Linked DNA regions of Homo sapiens: all the other regions are linked to region 1. Evidence: promoter capture Hi-C in 16 types of primary human blood cells and fetal thymus (Javierre and others, 2016). All regions are on one chromosome and are shown on one strand. The core of a region is centred on a gene start or on the middle of the fragment in contact, and the rest is flanking DNA. Distances in the headings are between cores, read along the strand shown.

The links. The method cuts DNA at HindIII sites, captures the fragments that hold promoters and counts their contacts. A CHiCAGO score of 5 or more calls a contact.
Region 2: a fragment that was not itself captured here is called in contact with the fragment with the promoter of MOGAT1 in region 1 in 1 of 17 cell types (monocytes); the score reaches 5.1 in monocytes.
Region 3: a contact is called between a fragment that was not itself captured here and the fragment with the promoter of MOGAT1 in region 1, in 6 of 17 cell types (M0 macrophages, neutrophils, M1 macrophages and 3 more). The highest score is 8.8, in M0 macrophages.
Region 4: a fragment that was not itself captured here is called in contact with the fragment with the promoter of MOGAT1 in region 1 in 4 of 17 cell types (fetal thymus, M0 macrophages, neutrophils and 1 more); the score reaches 6.6 in fetal thymus.

The regions. Positions count from the first base shown.
Region 1 is chr2:222,669,419-222,674,027 of GRCh38, reverse strand. MOGAT1 (monoacylglycerol O-acyltransferase 1) reads right to left here and starts at 2,370. Exons shown (of 6, transcript NM_058165.3): 1 at 2,149-2,370. The coding sequence starts at 2,242. It overlaps LOC124907985 (a long non-coding RNA gene), which reads right to left. Exons shown (of 2, transcript XR_007088095.1): 2 at 3,026-3,392. The HindIII fragment of the contact is 3,409 bases long and covers 1,184-4,592 here.
Region 2 is chr2:222,966,477-222,971,085 of GRCh38, reverse strand. No RefSeq gene overlaps it. Among named protein-coding and RNA genes, the nearest start is that of ACSL3-AS1, 49 kb to the right of the region's middle. The HindIII fragment of the contact is 5,483 bases long and covers 58-4,609 here.
Region 3 is chr2:222,946,502-222,951,110 of GRCh38, reverse strand. It overlaps the pseudogene LOC100419511. Among named protein-coding and RNA genes, the nearest start is that of ACSL3-AS1, 29 kb to the right of the region's middle. The HindIII fragment of the contact is 1,135 bases long and covers 1,754-2,888 here.
Region 4 is chr2:222,928,358-222,932,966 of GRCh38, reverse strand. ACSL3 (acyl-CoA synthetase long chain family member 3) reads right to left here. Exons shown (of 17, transcript NM_004457.5): 13 at 4,031-4,105; 14 at 2,155-2,346. Among named protein-coding and RNA genes, the nearest start is that of ACSL3-AS1, 11 kb to the right of the region's middle. The HindIII fragment of the contact is 6,550 bases long and covers 1-4,609 here.

The DNA.
Region 1 (4,609 bases), core at 1,121-3,620:
CACCAGGTTGCTGTGAGGATTACATGAGTTAATACTCTAGGGATCTGGTGGGTGCATAATTCCTATTCTGGGTGATAGACCAGAAACAGCCATTCAACAAGTATTTGTGTATATCTCAAGTATTTGTGTATATCTCAAGTATTCGTGTATATCTTCCATGGGCCAGACATATACTGTGTGTTTCCTCACTAAGCTTGTAGACTAAGACAGCCATAGAGAACTTTCTGAAGTCACCACAGCCATACACAGATACAAGCAATGATAAGTGCCATGAAAGAAAAGAACAGTGGCTATCAGAGATGTGTTGAATGATCGGTTAGGAAGTCGGACTCCAAGTTCAGGCCATTTAAGAGAGCAGTTTAGTGGTTAAAGCAGACACTTTGGGCAGAATACTTGGGTTTGAAACCAGCTCTACCACGTCCTGCTAGCTGCATCGCCTTGAGCAATTTACTTCATCTCTTAGTTCCCTCATCTGTACCAGGAGTGTAGGAATAGTCCTTACCTCACAGGGATGTTGTGAAGATTGCTAGTTAATCGTGGATGTTGCTTAGAACAGCACCTGGCACATACCAAGCGCTAGATAAGGTCGTGTGTTGTTATCTCCATGGTGCTTTGATCCAGAGCAACCCTGCCTCACGGTGTAGTCTGTGAGGACTTAATGAGTTAACACTTTGAATTACATTTTTTTTTTTTTTTGGTAAATTCTACCTAGCAGCACAGGAGAGTCACTCGGAGAGTTCTTAAGAGGAAAAAGGAAAAAAAAAAAGGTGTACAGACTTCATTCTGAAACAAATGACTTAGAAATTCCAGGGATGAGCCGGGCGCGGTGGCTCACGCCTGTAATCCCAGCACTTTGGGAGGCTGAGACAGGCGGATCACCTGAGATTGGGAGTTCGAGACCACCCTGACCAACATGGAGAAACCCCGTCTCTACTAAAAAGACAAAATTAGCCAGATGTGGTGGCACATGCCTGTAACCCCAGCTACTCGGCAGGCTGAGGCAGAAGAATTACTTGAACCCGGGAGGCGGAGGTTGTGGTGAGCCGAGATGGCGCCACTGCACTCCAGCGTGGGCAACAAGAGTGAAACTCCGTCTCAAAGATAATAATAATAATAATAATAATAATAATAATAATAAACAAATTCCAGGATGGAGCCTGGGCATCTGCACTTTTTAGAAGCTTCTCCAGTGATTCTCATCTAGAGCCAGGGTTGAGAACCACTGATTCAGGCTTTCGAAATGTAAAAGCAGTTTTAAAAGTGTAAAACTCTCCAATGCAATGGGCTTATTACTATTATTACCACCCCAACGCTGTACAATCCATGATCTTACAGCATACACATGATCTTAGTCTTCAGAAGAGTTTATGTTTCAATAGAAGGGTCTCCCCCAAATTCCTCCCTCCTCCCACATCACCCCTATTTACTTCAAGAGCAGAACAAATATGAAGGAAAAAACAAAAAACAAAAAGAAAAACCACCCACGTTTTTGCCCCATCTAATGATTCGGCTCGTGTATGTTTCATGGGCTCAACTTGGGAACCAACTGGAACACACACGCTACTGAGTCAAACTATTTCCAGAGAGAAACCGCTCAACCAAATGCAATGAGTGGTGCAGCCTTCTTTACAGAAAGGTACTGCTATGCATCCAGGAAATCTCCAAAACGGGAAAGGGAACACTGCTCTTTGTCAGGAGGGTGGGGAGACAAAGAGGGAGAAGGAACAAGGTTTTAACTACTGAGGCATTACTTTGCCATCTATGAATCAACAGTTCGAGAAACGAGTTTGCCAACTTTTGAGGGGTTAAAGTGCTCATGCGTTCGATGGGGTCATGGTTACATTTTGGTAGATACAGTCGCCAAAAGTCATCGAGCTGTATCCGTATAACTGCGCCTTTTATTGTAGGCAAGGTGCACCTCAATTTAAAAAAGTAACGCAGGAGAAAATAAAATTAAACAGTCGTTAGCGATGAGGTTCTCGTGAGGAAACCAGAGTCCACGTTAGCTCCAAATGCCCTCTTTGACCTGCCTGCTCTGGCCGACAGGGGAACGAGGGTTGGAAGGTTCTATGCAGGTCCTGGAATCCGGACCGTCCCGAGGGAGGATATGGAGCCCAAGCCCCGCGGCCCGGGGGGCGGGGTCCTTACCGAGCAGCAGGTATTTCAGGACCCACTGCAGCACGGCCACCGTCTGCAGCCGCCGCGCCAGCTGGATGTTGAGCGGTGCAAACTCTACCTTCATGGCCTGGCCGGGCGAGGACGGCGCCAGCCACTGCAGCCTGCACCCACGCTGCTCTGCGGCGCCTGTGGGAAGTGCCCGGCCGGATCCGGGCCCCGCGCTGGGCACTGGCTGGGCGGAGAGGAAAAGGCAGAGGCTAGGCAGCGAGCGGGGACCCAACTGCGCCCTGGGTGGGAGGGCGCGCTGGGCTGAGGCTGGGGGCAGCCAATCACAAGCGCCGGGCGCCAGAGCTGGCCCAGCGCCCTGGCCCCGGAGCAGCTACAGCGGCCCGGGCGCATTGGCTGGCGCGCCGGGCGTTGGCGAGAGTGCGCCGCGTGGGACACGAGGGACGGGGAGAGGGGTCAACTGGCAGCCAGCCCGAGCCGGGCAGCGCGGGCTCCTGCCGCCTGGCTGAGGACCTGGGATCTCCACCAGGATCTGACCATTGTTCAGCTGATCGATCACCCAGCGCTTGCCTTCAGCATCCCACCCCTTCATTCGAACCCTCGGTGATTGGGGAAGGGTTAGTTTGAGGAATCGCACACCAGCTGGAGAGATGAGCGAGACTTGTTTCTTAGTTTATTGATCTGTGTCCCCCCGCAACCTCCAATTTCCCCGCGGATGGGGAAGGGGACCTGGCTTCCTCACTCTTGGGTCCTCAGTTCCCTACAGGAGCTCCGGGAATCTTTCACCCATTCATTCATTCAACCCACATTTATTGAGCACTTGCCACTTGCTGAGCACCATCCGGGCGCTTGGATAACCAAGCTGTCAAGCGCATCCGTGTGAAGAGACCACCAACAGGCATTGTGTGAGCAACAAGGCTGTTTATTCACTTAGGTGCAAGTCAGCTGAGTCCGAAAAAGAGTCAGCGAAGGGAGATGGGGAAGGGGTTGCTTTATAGGAGTTGTCTAGGTAATGGAAAATTACAGTAGAAGGTGGTTATCTATTGTTAGCAGAGGAAGGGGTCACAAGGTACAGGGTGGGGAGATCATAAGACTCATTGTCCAGAAGAAGAATGTCACAAAGTCGATTGATCGGCTAAGGTAGGGCAGGGACAAGTCACAATGGTAAAATGTTGTAATGTTGGTTAATCAGTTAAGGCAGGAACTGGCTGTTTTACTTCTTTGCGTTTTTTTTGGCTGCTCCAGGCTTCTTGGCTCCTGCAGGCCACCTGGATGTGTACATGCAGGTCACAGAGGTTATAATGGCTGAGCTTTGGCTCAGAGGCCTGACACAAGCTATTCATTGTCTTGTTCTCAGAGTACAGGGGGAAACAGACATAAGCAAAACAACTACACAATTTGGTGTATAATTACAAGTAAGACCCTACTGTGAATGACTAGAAGATTCCAAAACCAAGACTGCTGCACGGTCAGGGAAGTGTCTGAAGAAGTGCCCTTACTTGAGCTGTAGCCAAATCTAGTTAACCCAGGAGTCATCCGGGCAAAGGGAAGCACATATGCAAAGGTCCTGTGGCTGAACTCCAAGAAGAGCTCAAAGAGTGAGAGCTTGGGGGACAAGGGTGAGATTGGGGTGACATCAGGCAAAAATGGTGGGCAAGGTCCAGACCCTTGCAGACTGAGTTAGGGTTCAAGTTTGAACCCCAAGAGCAGTACAAGACACTGAAGGGTTTCAATTACGATGTGCTAAATGGATGGCTAGATTCTAAATAGTGCCTAGTCCTTGGGAGCAACCACTGCACTTTATTTATAAATATTAATTACCACATAGTTGAAAAACTCAAAATGATGAGCAGCTGTCAAGTCATTGCTGAAGAGGACTTGGAACAGGGCAAAACAATATAGTTGGCCCTCCTTTCTCCCCCATCCTATGCCCTTTTCTCCTTCAACATTTTAATACAAAGGGAGTTGGATTAAAACAAATACCAGGGCCACTTGGAGGAGTTGTTTGTGATTTTTTGTATGCAAAACTTGTTTGGGTTTCTTTTTCCTCCTACTTAAGGAGTCACTTTCTTCTTTCCTTTTAGATTTCTTCCTTGAATCTTCCCCCAGTGCTAGGTGGGGACACTACGAACACACCCTATGTCAGGCACTCTGCAGAGACCTCACAGGCGTAATCTCAAAAACCCTACAAAGTACGCATTCACTTCAACTTTGCAGCTGAGGAAATTAGGGCTTAAAGTCACACAGCTGGTAAATGGCAGAATAGAGAAGATTCAAATTTCTATAAAACCTGGAGAGGCGAGTCATCCCTTCATCAACTGAACCAAACATAGAACAAACATTTATGGAGTGCCTGCATTGCCTTGGGCATTGTCCTTGGTACTGATGACACAAACGTGAATTAAGATGAGGTCTCTGTGCCTTTGAGAATTTACACACATTTACTTATTGACTATTTGTGGAAAGCTTTCTATGTATTAGGCAC
Region 2 (4,609 bases), core at 1,550-4,049, 300 kb before region 1:
ACAGCAATTCCACTACCTCAAGACCCTCGAACTATATTAACTACAGCCACCCAAGCTTGCCTGGGGAAAGACGGTGGACAAAGAGCCATGATTTGTAACCAGCACATGGTTTGTTTGAAAGAAGCATGCACTTCTGAGGTGTGAGAAAGTTCTAGAATCATTTTAGCCAAGATCAAAGAGATTGTTTGCTTTTGTAATATGTTAAGAAAATGGAAGAAAGAGTGTGGACTCATAAGTAAATTTAAACTTTAGACCAGTATGTATGAATTAGCATCAGAAAGGGAAGGGAAGAGAGTAAAGATTGATTGAAAGCCCATTTATGGAATGCACTATCCAGCCACAAAACAAAAAATAAAGCATTATTTCCTCCCCATTCTGGATTATAATCTAGTTGTGCCTTTTTGAAAAGCCAGTCTCATCAACAGAAAGCTATCTTGATTTGAATGGCTCATTAAATAGGATAGAACAGGGGAATTCCAGCTCTAAATGGAAGGCTGTTTACAAACCTAAATTTAATAATCCTCATTAGAGGCCAGCTATGCGATCCTGAGCTAGTAGTTTAACCTCTCTGAACCTCATTTTCCTGATCTGTAAAATGGTGTGCTGATGCTGTGAAAAACAGTTGGGTGTTTCCTCAAAAAGTTAAACATAAAACTACCATACGATCCAGTAATTTCACTTCTGAATATATACTTAAGAGTGAAAGCACAAACTCCAACAGATATTAGTACACTAATGTTCATAACATCATATTCACAATAACCCAGAGGTAGAAATAACCCAAATACCAATGGACAGATTAATGAATATACAAAATGTGGGATAAACATACAATGTTTTGTTTTGTTTTGTCTTGTTTTCGAGACAGGGTCTTGCTCTGTCACCCAGGTGGGACTGCAATGGTACAATCATGGCTCACTGCAGCATCAACTTCCCGGGCTCTAGTGATCCTCCTGCCTCAGCCTCCCGAATAACTGGGACCACAGGAACACACCACTATGCCTGGCTAATTTTCAAAACTTTTTTGTAGAGATGGGATCTCTCTATGTTGCCAGGCTGATCTCAAACTCTTGGGCTCAAGTGATCCTCCTGCCTCGGCCTCCCAGAGTACTGGGAATATAGGTATGAGCCACAGCACCCAGAAAATGTATTATTTTTAGGCCTTAAAAAGGAATGAAATTCTGATGTAAGCTACAACATGAATAAACCTTCAAAGTGTGTATGCTAAACGAAATAAGCCAAACACAAAAGGACAAATATTGCATTATTCCACTGAGGTACCTAGAATAGGCAAATTAATGGAGAAGAGAAGTAGAATAGAGGCTACTAGGAGCTGTGGGGAGGGAGGAATGGTGAGTTAGTGTTTAACGGGTGTGGAGTTTCAGTTTGGGGTGATGCCAAAGTTCTTGAAACGGATAGTGGCAATGATTGCATAACATTGAGAATGTATTTACTGCCACTAAATTGTACACTCAAAAAAAGGTTAAAATGGTAAACTTTATGTTATGTATATTTATCACTATGATAGAATAGATGATAAATAGATGATAGATAGATAGATAGATAGATAGATAGATAGAAAATGGTACTGGGTTACTATTCAAAGTCATGTCTTTCTTAGCCCTAAATATATATATATATATATATATATATATATATATATATATATATAACAATTTAAATATATATTACAATTTATATTTGTAGAAGGAATATATATATATATCCCTTCTATTATGTTGTCTAATTCTATGTTTATTGTATTGCGTATTTTGCTAAATTTTACTCTGTGCAAAACATGTGTTGAATAGGTGTGAATTAATTAATTATATAGTTTTATTGACTACGGCAGTACAAAAGGAAAAGATGTTACGATAAATTTTCTCAATACACAATACAAACTAAAAGGACTCTTCCAGTCCTCCTGAGCTGGTTCCATCCTGAACCAGGTATGTCTCCCAAGAGGCCCCAGCAGGGCAGGCTCTTCCTCTACAGTTTGATGAGAAAAGTCTCCATGATGTACTCTTCTCATATTTACAGTATGAAGAATGGCTTTTTTTCCCTCTAGTTTTAATTGAGATGGAACATTCCAAGGCCAAGAAAATGTCATGCATTCACTGGTGAGTAAGCTAGACATGACGGGAATGACAGTTACAGGACACAGCTATTTACCAAAAACGTGACCTATGGGACTTAAGAACCATGTCACGCTGCTCTGCCTGATGGTATCTATTTGGATGACCTGAAATCAGAAACTTGGTTTTCTTTTGAAGAGAAAAATGTCCAGAGTATACTGAGATATGCACGGGGGTAAGGGACACGTGCAAGTGTGCACATCCACGTGTTCACAGCCATGGGGAAGGGAGGAAAAATCACCCCTTAACTCAAAGAACTCTGGAAATTACAATAGGAAACAACCTACTTTCCCTATTGAACAGCAACAAAATGAGAAGCAAGCAATAAGGGATAATAAAATGCCCAAGTTATGTTTTTACATGCAAGTAAAGTGAGTCAAGAGGACTATAACTTTGAAGACAAGTTATGGAATATGAATCTCTCCACATAGGGTGCTTACTGTATTTTCTCATTTCTTTCAAATCCTGTAGAAGTGCATAGTCAAGACTGAAAATATAAAAGGCCATAAAAATGGAGATACAAATGGCTCTCCAGATGTTTGAGTCTGTTCTAAGAGAAATCACATTTGTGAGAGCAGACAAAAATGTGAAACAAAAAAAATGGTAGAGCTTAAATGTTAAAGCAAACTCAATTGATAGACATTAATTGAGCACCTACCAAATAAAAGATACTGGGCTAGCCTCCACAAAACAAAAAATAAGGCATTATTTCCTCCCCATTCTGGATTATAATCTAGTTGTGCCTTTTTGAAAAGCCAGTCCCATCAACAGAAAACTATCTTGATTTGAATGGCTCATTAAATAGGATAGAACAGGGGAATTCCAGCTCTAAATGGAAGGCTGTTTAACTCCATCTTCAGCTGGGTTCTCTTTAAAATGACAGCAAGACAATTTAAAAGGATTTAATGCACAACGATAAAGAAAGTAAAAGAAGGGCTGTCACTGAATAGAAATTCAACAAATGACTAGAAGATGGATGAAAACAGATGAAGTAGATCAGAGGAACCATGGCCTAGAGTCCTTATGGGAGGCGATACGCCCATCTACCTTGCCAGACTCTGATAGGTTTCAGCACTCAGAAACAGAATAATGAAGGCAGTGAAATGAAGGTGTGGACATGGGCTGCCCTGTCCCACTGCACTCTCTCAGCACACTAGAAACCAGACATCTCCCTGGCCTACCCCACCTTACTCCCCAGTCTAAGCATCAAAGGGTCCTCCTTGAAACAAATTGATAGCCCCACTGGAAACATCTCTGCATTCTGGCACTTAGGATGTCCTCAATCTCCCAGACGCAAATCCATCTACCTGACAGATCTTGTTCACATGCACGATTTTTCATTGCCTCGCACTTCGACTTAAATGAACGAGGATGAAGACTGTGCAGTTATTTCAGAATAGAGACAAGTTTTTTAAATGACTCCAACCAAAACAAAGATAAGTTAAGCTATAGAACACAAAATAAAATCCTCTAATTAGAAATTAGACCCATGAAACAAAAATAAGATGCTATATCAAGAGGAAAAATCAGATACCAAAAAAAAGAGCTATTGGAAATTTTTTAATGACTGCAAAAATAGGAAAATTCATTACAAGGTTGGAGAATAAAATCCAGATGACTTCCCAAAAAACAGATCTCAAAATAAGAGATAAAAAAGGTAATAGAAAAAAATAGGAGACCTAGAAGACCAATCTGTGGATCCAGTGTCTGACTAATAGAACTAATACAAAAAAAGAGAAACCAGAAGAGACAGAGAGAGAGGAAGAAATTATCAAAGACATAACAGAAGACAGTAAGAATTGAGAGGTGGGACTGATCACTGAGGATTCAGGTAGTCAGAAAAGTCGGCACAGAGGAGGGAAGTTTTCAGCCCAGCCTTGAAGGATGTTCAGGATTCTGACCAGTGGGAAGAAAGAGAGGTCTCAAGATACAAAGCCCAGCAAGCAAAGAATTCAGACCAGAAAGAGCCTGAGTTATGCCTACAGAAGCTGCCTAGATTCAGATTCAACCACCATTTCTCTAGCATTGGCATCTTCAGACATTGTTCCGAGCCCCTTTAATGCTGCACCCAGTGGAATCCTCACAACCATCTCACAGCTCTCATGTATAGCTCAGGACACTCAGCCTAGGAGAGAGAGGCAATGCATTCATGTCACACAGTGGTTGATTCTAGAGTAGAATTCACACCTATGATGACCCCAGGCTCTAAGTCCCTCACTCATAAATCTCATCAGGGATGAGAGTTCTCACAATTAAAAAGAGGGCTCTATGACTAGAAAGGTAAGTTGAGGGTAGATTTTCAGGGGCCTAAAATATTAAGTAAAGGAGTTCTTTTTTTTCATATGACACAGTCTTGTTTTGTTATTCATACTGGAGTACAGTGGCAAGATTATGGCTCACTGCAGCCTCAACCTCTGAGGCTCAGGCAATCCTTCCACCTTAGCCTCCCATGTAGCTGGGACTGCAGGCATGTG
Region 3 (4,609 bases), core at 1,072-3,571, 280 kb before region 1:
AACATCCATCACCCACGCAGCCCTGCTGCTTCCTGTAAATGCCGCAGAGGAGAGAAGATGAGATATACAAACACAAATCTGCCTTCGGATTTTACATCAAATTCCTGCCCATTTTTATTTTACTCATTATTAGCATATTCCCGGAAGGTAGAACAAAACAATTTCTCAAATGACTCAGAAGGCATATGAAATTATTGTTTATTAGCAGGGAGGGAAAGGAGGAAGGAAGGAGGTGGAAAAAAGAGACCCATGACAAAAAAAAACCTAACACAGGGCCGGGTGCGGTGGCTCACGCCTGTAATCCAAGCACTTTAGGAGGTGGAGGCGGGAAGATCACTTGAGGCCAGGAGTTTGAAACCAGCCTGGGCAGCATAGTGAGTCCCTTTCTCTACAAATAATTAAATTAATTAATTAGTTAATTAATAAATAAGCCAGATGTGGCAGTTCGCTCCTGTAGTCGCAGCTACTTGGGACACTGAGGCAGGAGGATTGCTTGAGCCATGATCACACCACTGCATTCCAGCCTGGGTGACAAAGCAAGACCTTATTTCAAAAAGCAAAAAAAGGGAGAAAAGAAAACTAACACAGTGTCTACAAAGGCTCAGAGGGACGGGACCTGCCTGGGTCACACTACACACCATGTTTCCCCTTCTTTCCCACATTTTAGCTAATTGATGATAAAAGGCTAATTAATGAAAATGATAGTATACCCAACATTCACTCAGAATCTCTTAGAAGAAAGTCATATGACACTAGACTTGGAGGATACAAAGAATCACTAAAACACCCATTCCTCAGGAATTTAAATTTATCTGAGAAGTCAGGAGATATATATGTACATACACACACACACACACACACACTCAAAACCAAATAACAATTGGATAGTTTACAAAACTGCTAAGGTTTGATCTACCTAGCCATTCCTGTTAGAAAGCTGTCCTGTAGATGAGCTTCCTCTTAAGCACAAAAATGGGAGTAAAAGCTTTGTGTTGTCACACTGATTCTAATGGTAAAAACTGAAATAACCTAAGTGCCTAACAATGAGAGAATGGTTTACATTGTGATACACCCATTCTGTGGAATATTGCCTCGCCGTTAACAAGGTTATTTATGAATCAGGTCCATTATATATGTACTGACACAGGAAGATGTCCAATGTATGCTCACAATAAAAAAGGCAAGTTATAGAATCTAGACCAGGATCTAACTGCGGTCTGTATTAGTGTGCTAGGGCTGCCATAACAAAATCACAGACTAGGTGGTTTGAGCAACAGAAATTCACTTTCTCACAATTCTGTTGGCTAGAAGGACAAGATCAAGGTGTCAGCAGGGCTGGTATCTTTTGAGACCTCTCTTTTTGGGTTGGCATCCCACACTCTTCACTCTGTGGAGATCTGTGTCCTGATCTCCTTGTGCAAGGACTCTAGTCATATTGGATTAGGGGCCACATTAATGACCTCATATTAACTTAATCACCTTATTCAAGGCCCTATCTCCAAATTTACTGACATTCTGAGGTACTAGAGATCAGGACTTCAACATATACATTTGGGAGGAGAGACAAAATTTAATTCATTATATGTTTTCTAAAAACCCTGTGTATATAGGGAGGATTTCCATTTTTAGTCTATATCTCCAAATTACTAGAAATTTTATAATGAGCATAAATTCATGTTATGCTAAATAAGCAAATCTTTCAAAAACTAATATGGTATTTTTACACCTGTTTGTCTAACATTCCAAATAAGCTTAAAAAAAAATCACAATAGCAGGGAGACTCAAGCCTGGTCTGTAAAGGACGTCTGGTGCAATCATCCACAGGTCTCAGCACTGGCCCTGATGAGGGATCACAGGTCAACACTGACACCAGACCCAGAGCTAGAATCAGCCAATAAAACAACCAAAAGGCAAAGAAGAACTGGGCAACTTTCAGGGAAAAGATAGAAGAAAAGCATCTTTCTGAATTTCCCTTTTCTTATAGGAGCTGTTTTTAAAAATTAGCAAATCATCTCCTCTTTTTAAAATGGATGATCTACAGAAAAATATACAATATGATATTGTATTAGTCCATTTTCACGCTGCTGATAAAGACATACTGGAGACTGGGTAATTTACAAAGAAAAGTAAGTTTCATGGACTCTCAGTTCCACATGGCTAGGGAGGCCTCACAATCATGGTGGAAGGCAAAAGGCACATCTTATATGGTGGGAGGCAAGAGAGAATGAGAGCCAAGTGAAAGGGGAAACCCCTTATAAATCATCAGATCTCGTGAGACTTATTCACTATCACGATAACAGTATGGGGGAACTGCCCCCATGATTCAATGATCTCCCACCAGGTCCCTCCCGCAACATGTGGGAATTGTAGGAGATACAATTCAAGATGAGATTTGGGTGGGGACACAACCAAACTATATCAGATATTGATACTAATAAAGTTTTACATTTAACAGGAGGAGGAGAAAGGGCATAGCAAATCTATTGGACACACAAGAAGAAAATCTTCTTGAAAAGAGCTATTTAGGGGCCAAGGTCCTACATAATTCAGTTACAGAAAAATTAAAATTGAGTCATGAAGCAGTAAATAAAAGGATTAAGAACATGAAAATAAAGATATGCAGAACATGGGCAGAATTACCAGAAAAAAAATGCACATACAGAAGACAGGCACAGATACCCATATATCACGTTATAAAGCTGGAACAAACAGAACAAGATTGATAAACAAGGGTATAGTTGAAGGGAGCTTTCAAAAAATATATAAATATGAATGGGATTAGAAAATAAAAGGGTTTCTAGTTTCTTCTTTACTAGAACACTTAAGATAGCTTCAAATATTTTTTCTTAACAATTGATAATTTTGCTAAGATAAAAAATTTTAAAGCTTATGGTCCATATTTTAAGCTAGGCTTCTTTACACAAGCTTGACTTTTTATTGTAGGAGTAAGTAAAGCCAATGTAAAGAATTTTGAAAGTATGAAGAGAAAAATGTCAATTACAATTTTTGGCCAATGATTGCACATTTCTTTCTAGACTTTTCTCTATGAAATATATACACAACACACACACACACACATTATGACATAAAGTGCCTACTAAATTTTGATTCCTACTTTCTTCCCCCATAAAATTCATAGTATGAAGTCCTCCTCACAATATAAAAAGCTGTATAAACATTTTTTGTGCCTCTATGATCAAGTGGATAGTGTCTAATATTTACCTGATATCTTACTTTAGTGCACTTGTTTCCAATTGATGGATTGCTATAAACAACTTCACAATGAAGGTCTTCCTGAAGAAATCTCAACCCGCGTCTCTTGAGTATTTTCTAAGGTCAGATTCCTAGATGTGGAATTAGTGGGCAAACCATAGGAACTTTTTTAAGCCTCTGGTGCATCTCACTTTCCTACATGAGGTGAACTGCTGATGTGCTGAACAGGGTAAAAACAGATTTGGGTGGCTATTTTTGACCATGGCTACCAAAAAGCCATCTTTTCTTACATTTGTGGAAACGTTTAAAAGAATTCTAAGGCCGGGAGCGGTGGCTCACGCCTGTAATCCCAGCACTTTGGGAGGCCAAGGCGGGTGGATCACCTGAGGTCCGGAGTTCGAGAACAGCCTAGCTAACATGGTGAAATCCCGTCTCTACTAAAAATATAACATTAGCTGGGTGTGGTGGCAGGTGCCTGTAATCCCAGCTACTCAGGAGGCTGAGGCAGGAGAATCACTTGAACCGGGAGATGGAGGTTGTAGTGAGCTGAGATCGTACCACTGTACTCCAGTCTCGGCCACAGAGTGAGACACTGTCTCAAAAAAAAAAAAAAGAAAACAGAAAAAAAATTCTCGGAGTTCTTGCCCCAATGCTCTCAAGACATCCAAAACATTCAAACCAAGAGAGGACTGGAGTGAGGATGGCGTTAGTGCTAAGGCTGAGCAGAGAGGTATTATACAGGGCAGGCAGAGCATCTAGCAGAATAAGGGACTGTGCCCTGGCCACTCATGGAGGTCCTCAGATGGGGTGACTCACAGCGGGGTTGGGAGCTTTGAGGACAGCACATTGCTGGGTTGTTAGAGCTGGATGTTTTATATGTGAGCACCTTCCCACACAACACCATTCCTTTCCCGCCAGGCCTGAAGCCCCATCCTTCCAGGCCCCCATTAAAGGCATTAGGACTTTTAAGTCTTCAACATCCTCCTTTTCCCAGATTCCAGACAAGGGCCTTCTGAGCGATAACAGGGCCCAGAATATGGCCATGGGGTTGACAAAGTGGCAGGGCTAGGCAGCGCGTTGGAGCTATAGGCTTCTATACATAAACATTTTGAAAGTTGGGGCATCAAATTATTTGGACAACATAGTTGTTTTTCATTTCTATTTTGAGGAAAAATGTGGAATTTTGCCTTTATCACAGAACAAATCTTGCAAAGCTATGTTCTTCTGATAGCTATAATCTTTTTTCTTGGGAGTCAGGGGTGGGGAAGGCATACATACAGCCCTCCTAATAAACCCTCATCCTGTGCCACTCTCTTATACCTTTTGTATTCTTAATATGATTATGGTCATGAAGAAAAATCAAAGTGAATGATTTACTTCTACATGTTTCATGATA
Region 4 (4,609 bases), core at 1,404-3,903, 260 kb before region 1:
CATGCTTTTTTTTTTTTTTTTTTTTTTTTGAGACGGAGTCTCGCTCTGTCGCCCAGGCTGGACTGCGGACTGCAGTGGCGCAATCTCGGCTCACTGCAAGCTCCGCTTCCCGGGTTCACGCCATTCTCCTGCCTCAGCCTCCCGAGTAGCTGGGACTACAGGCGCCCGCCACCGCGCCCGGCTAATTTTTTGTATTTTTAGTAGAGACGGGGTTTCACCTTGTTAGCCAGGATGGTCTCGATCTCCTGACCTCATGATCCACCCGCCTCGGCCTCCCAAAGTGCTGGGATTACAGGCGTGAGCCACCGCGCCCGGCCCATGCTTTTAAAAGAAAAACAGGCCAGGTCCAGTGGCTCATGTCTGTAATCCCAGCACTTCGGGAGGCCGAGGCGGGCACATCACTTGAGGTCAGGAGTTCGAGACCAGCCTGGCCAACATGGTGAAACCCCGACTCTACTAAAAATACGAAAACTAGCTGGGCGTGGTGGTGCACACCTGTAATCCCAGCTACTCAGGAGGCTGAGGCAGGAGAATTGCGTGAACCCAGGAGACAGAGGTTGCAGTGAGCTGAGATGGTGCCACTGCACTCCAGCCTGGGCGACAGAGCAAGACTACATCTCAAAAAAAGAAAGAAAGAAAAACAATTAACTTCTACTTAATGGACTCCATTAGCAGGGCTTCAAGTATGTTCTTCTGAACAGGTTTATTTCTGGTATCCATTAGTACCAGGCAGGTGAAGAAGATATTCAATGCCATCTGCAAGTTCACAACCTATCTGGAGACATGCATAATGCAAAAACGTATTACTTCAATACATTGGTACTACAATGGTAGCGCTAAGTGTTAAGACTCTCCAACCTGGGGATTTGGAAAAAATTCTTGCAAGTGAGGCCTGAGCTGAGGGTTGGATGGTTGGTTGGTTTTGAGATTTTGAGACAGGGTCTCACTCTGTTGCTCATACTGGAGTGCAGTGGCACAATCACGGCCTCCTGGGCTCCTGTGATACTCCCACCTCAGCCTCCCGAGTAGCTGGGATTACAGGCCTGAGTCACTATGCTCAGCTGCTTGAGCCGAGTCCTAAGGGAAAAGTGAGAGGTCAGGTGCAACAACACTGGCAAAAGCCAGAAGAACATCAGCTCTAATTTCAGCTGCATCAAGGAGGAGGAGGAAAACAACTGACGATGAAGGTGAAGAGGGGAACAATGTTAACAGGGGCACCCTGAACTGAGCTTCTAGGAGACATTAAATGGTTGTGGCCAGTAAGATCCATGTTTAGTAATTACATGGTGGCAGTGAGAGGGTGTGTTTAAGGGGGTAAACATGGCAACAGAGAAATTATTGGGAGAGGGTGGCAGAAGGTACAGGCCTGACCAATGATCAAGTAAGAGAGACAAAGAGAGAAGAGTATGATTTTGAGACATAGCTCATAAAATAAACTAGTGGGATATAAAATAGGCATGGGAAGCTGACTGAAGAGAACAGTCTTGAGTCTCCTCCCAGGTTTCTAGTTAGCAAGACAGGGATAGAAATGCCATTAACTTTTTTTTTTTTTTTAGACAGAGTCTTGCTCTGTTGCCCAGGTTGGAGTGCAGTGTCGCGATCTCCGCTTGCTGCAAGCTCTGCCTCCCGGGTTCATGCCATTCTCCTGCCTCGGCCTCCCAAGTAGCTGGGATTACAGGTGCCCGACAAAGACACCACACACGGCTAACTGAAATGCCATTAACTTTTAAAAAAAAAGAACCTAAAAGGAGAAGCAGAATAAGGTATTTTTCAACCCATATGAGTCATAGTACTTGAGCTGCCTGGCTTTCCTCTATTCTCCTGGGCAGGGCAAGGCAAGGGTGCAGTTCAGACTGTGAGAGCTCCATCCACTAATCTCTAGATGTCAGAAACACAGGCAGGAAACAATGACTGAAGGTTATCTAAGAGTAATTTAAAATACCACTGCTGCTGAACCATCTTTGAGAACTCATAACATGTCAGGCCTCATAAATTCCACAGTCCGTAATATTTTATATTCCAGGAGTGATGCAACAACCCAAACTAAGATTACATAAAGATTTATATTATTCAGCGCCTCCTCTAAATATATTGTGCTTCTTGTGTAAACTATTTCAGAAACATTCATTTTCAAAAAAATATTAGATGACTTACCAATAATCTTTAAGCATCCATCGGGTTCAAACTCTCCAATATCCCCAGTACAGAGCCACCTTTGTCCATTTTCATCTTCAAAGAAATCAGCTTTTGTTTTTGCTTCATTTTTGTAGTACCCCATTGTCACACTTTGGCCCCCAATAAGAATTTCACCCCTGGGGTGTGGCTTATCAGTATTAAAGTATCCACCTAATAAAATAATAATTGAGTTAATAGTTGAGTTAAATACAACACATGAAAATTTGAAACTACTAGTTTCTAAACAGTCATCTTATTTTAATCCAATTAGAACTTCCCAAAGGAAAAAAGGCAGACACTATGAATGAACAAAGTTTATCAATTTAACAGTAGGCACAAAATCTCAGTTGCTAAACCATAAGTATTTATGTTTTCAAACTTCTATTCTGAGAAAAAAATTAAACTCTAAAACCCAACATCTTCCATTTGTTGTATAAAATTATAAATACAAGAGACAAATTATTTGAAAGATTCTGCAACATCTTAAATATCATATTGATAAACTGACAGAAGTATTAAGTCATGCAATTAATAGAACAAATCCCTATATAAGAATGAGTTACTGCTGGGCCAGTGGCTCATGTCTGTAATCACAACACTTTGGGAGGCCAAGGAGGGTGGATCGCCTGAGGTCAGGAGTTTGAGGTCAGCCTGGCCAACATGGTGAAACCCCACCTCTACTAAAAATACAAAAAATTAGTCGGGCATGGTGGCGCACACCTGAAATCCCAGCTATTAGGGAGGCTGAGGCAGGAGAATCACTTGAACCCAGGAGGTGGAGGTTGCAGTGAGCCGAAACCATTGACACTGCACTCCAGCCTGGGCAACAAGAGCAAAACTCCGTGTCAAAAAAAAAAAAAAAAAAAAAGTGAGTTACTACATATTAAGATTTATTCTTATAGATAATTTCAAAATGACTCCAAGCCTAAATTTATTAAATATTCCCACTAATTCTGCTAAAGATAGCTAAAAGACATCCAAGCCTTAGAATCTTTCTTTATTTATTTATTTTGGAGATGAGAGTTTCGCTCTGTCACCCAGGCTAGAGTGCAGTGGCGCAATCTTGGCTCACTGCAACCTCCACCTCCCGGGTTCAAGTGATTCTCCTGCCTCAGCCTCCCGAGTAGCTGGAATTACAGGCACGCACCACCACGCCTGGCTAATTTTTGTATTTTTAGTAGAGACGGTTTCACCATGTTGGTCAGGCTGGTCTCGAACTCCTGACCCCATGATCCGCCCGTCTTGGCCTCCCAAAGTGCTGGGATTACAGGAGTGAGCCACTGCGCCCGGCCAGAATCTTTATCTTTACTTAATGTAGAGGAAAGGTGCATCCCAATAAAACACAGATAATTTGTATATTTTAACAGGATCAAATAAATTTTTAAGTGACCATTATTTTAAATGGCATGAGAATAAACAGACTTCTATGGAATTGCAGTGAAAATTTCCTTCTAATAATACAAGGTTGAAGCCCTCAGAAAAAAAAAGAAAAAAATCATTTAAAAATCCACAATTTCATAAAATAAATTTTATAATTTTACTTCTGCAAAATAAAGTTATGATCACTCCTAATTTATTGACATTATTCACTTATTAGTACATTTCTCAAGTTTTTGCCATAATTCTTACTTGCATCTACGTAATAAGTAAAATGAAAACAATAATAGTTCTTCAGAAACATCTTTGAAACAAGAAAAATAAATGCATTCATATAGTTCGAGATAAAACACGTCTATCACAAAGGACAAAAATGAGCACTTATGGGTGTTTACATTCTAAAGCAAGAAAGTGAAGCACTAATTTTCAAGTTTAATACTTTAAAAATTAATGCTCTGTGGTTAAAATAGTTTATTACCTTCCTCCCAGTTTTTTAATTTGATTTCACAGCAAACTAATGGTGCTCCCACTCTGCCAGTATTGTAGTCCCACACTAGGAATTAAATGAAAAAAAGGATATTTGAGAACAGTAGCTAATACACTGCTTCATTTTTCTAAATTACCAAAAATGATTATTTATCCTAAGGCTGAGGTATCCCCAGCTATTCCTTAAAAGCAGAAGTCACATATTGGTGAAGCACAGGCCGTGAGGCCTGTAGAGTCGTATTTTTTGGCCTACATTGAGGTTTTTTTTTTTTTTTTAAATTAGTTATTGTCATTCTTAAAAAATCAGGAAATTTTAGATGTAAGTGTGGAATCGCCAGCAACAATGGGCCCACATTTCAGGTACAGCAGAACTGACGGCCTCTGTTAGAGAGGGCATGCCTGCTCCTGTTCCCTCAGAATCAATCCTTACCCATCACATTGTCTTACATTAGGGCCCACTTGACTCATTTAAATAGGTAGCTGCCTGGTTCTTGAGTTTGAAATCCCTGTCTTAAAGGATGATGAAAACAATGGTTTACGTCTATTCTACTTTCTTATTAGGCCTCACCGA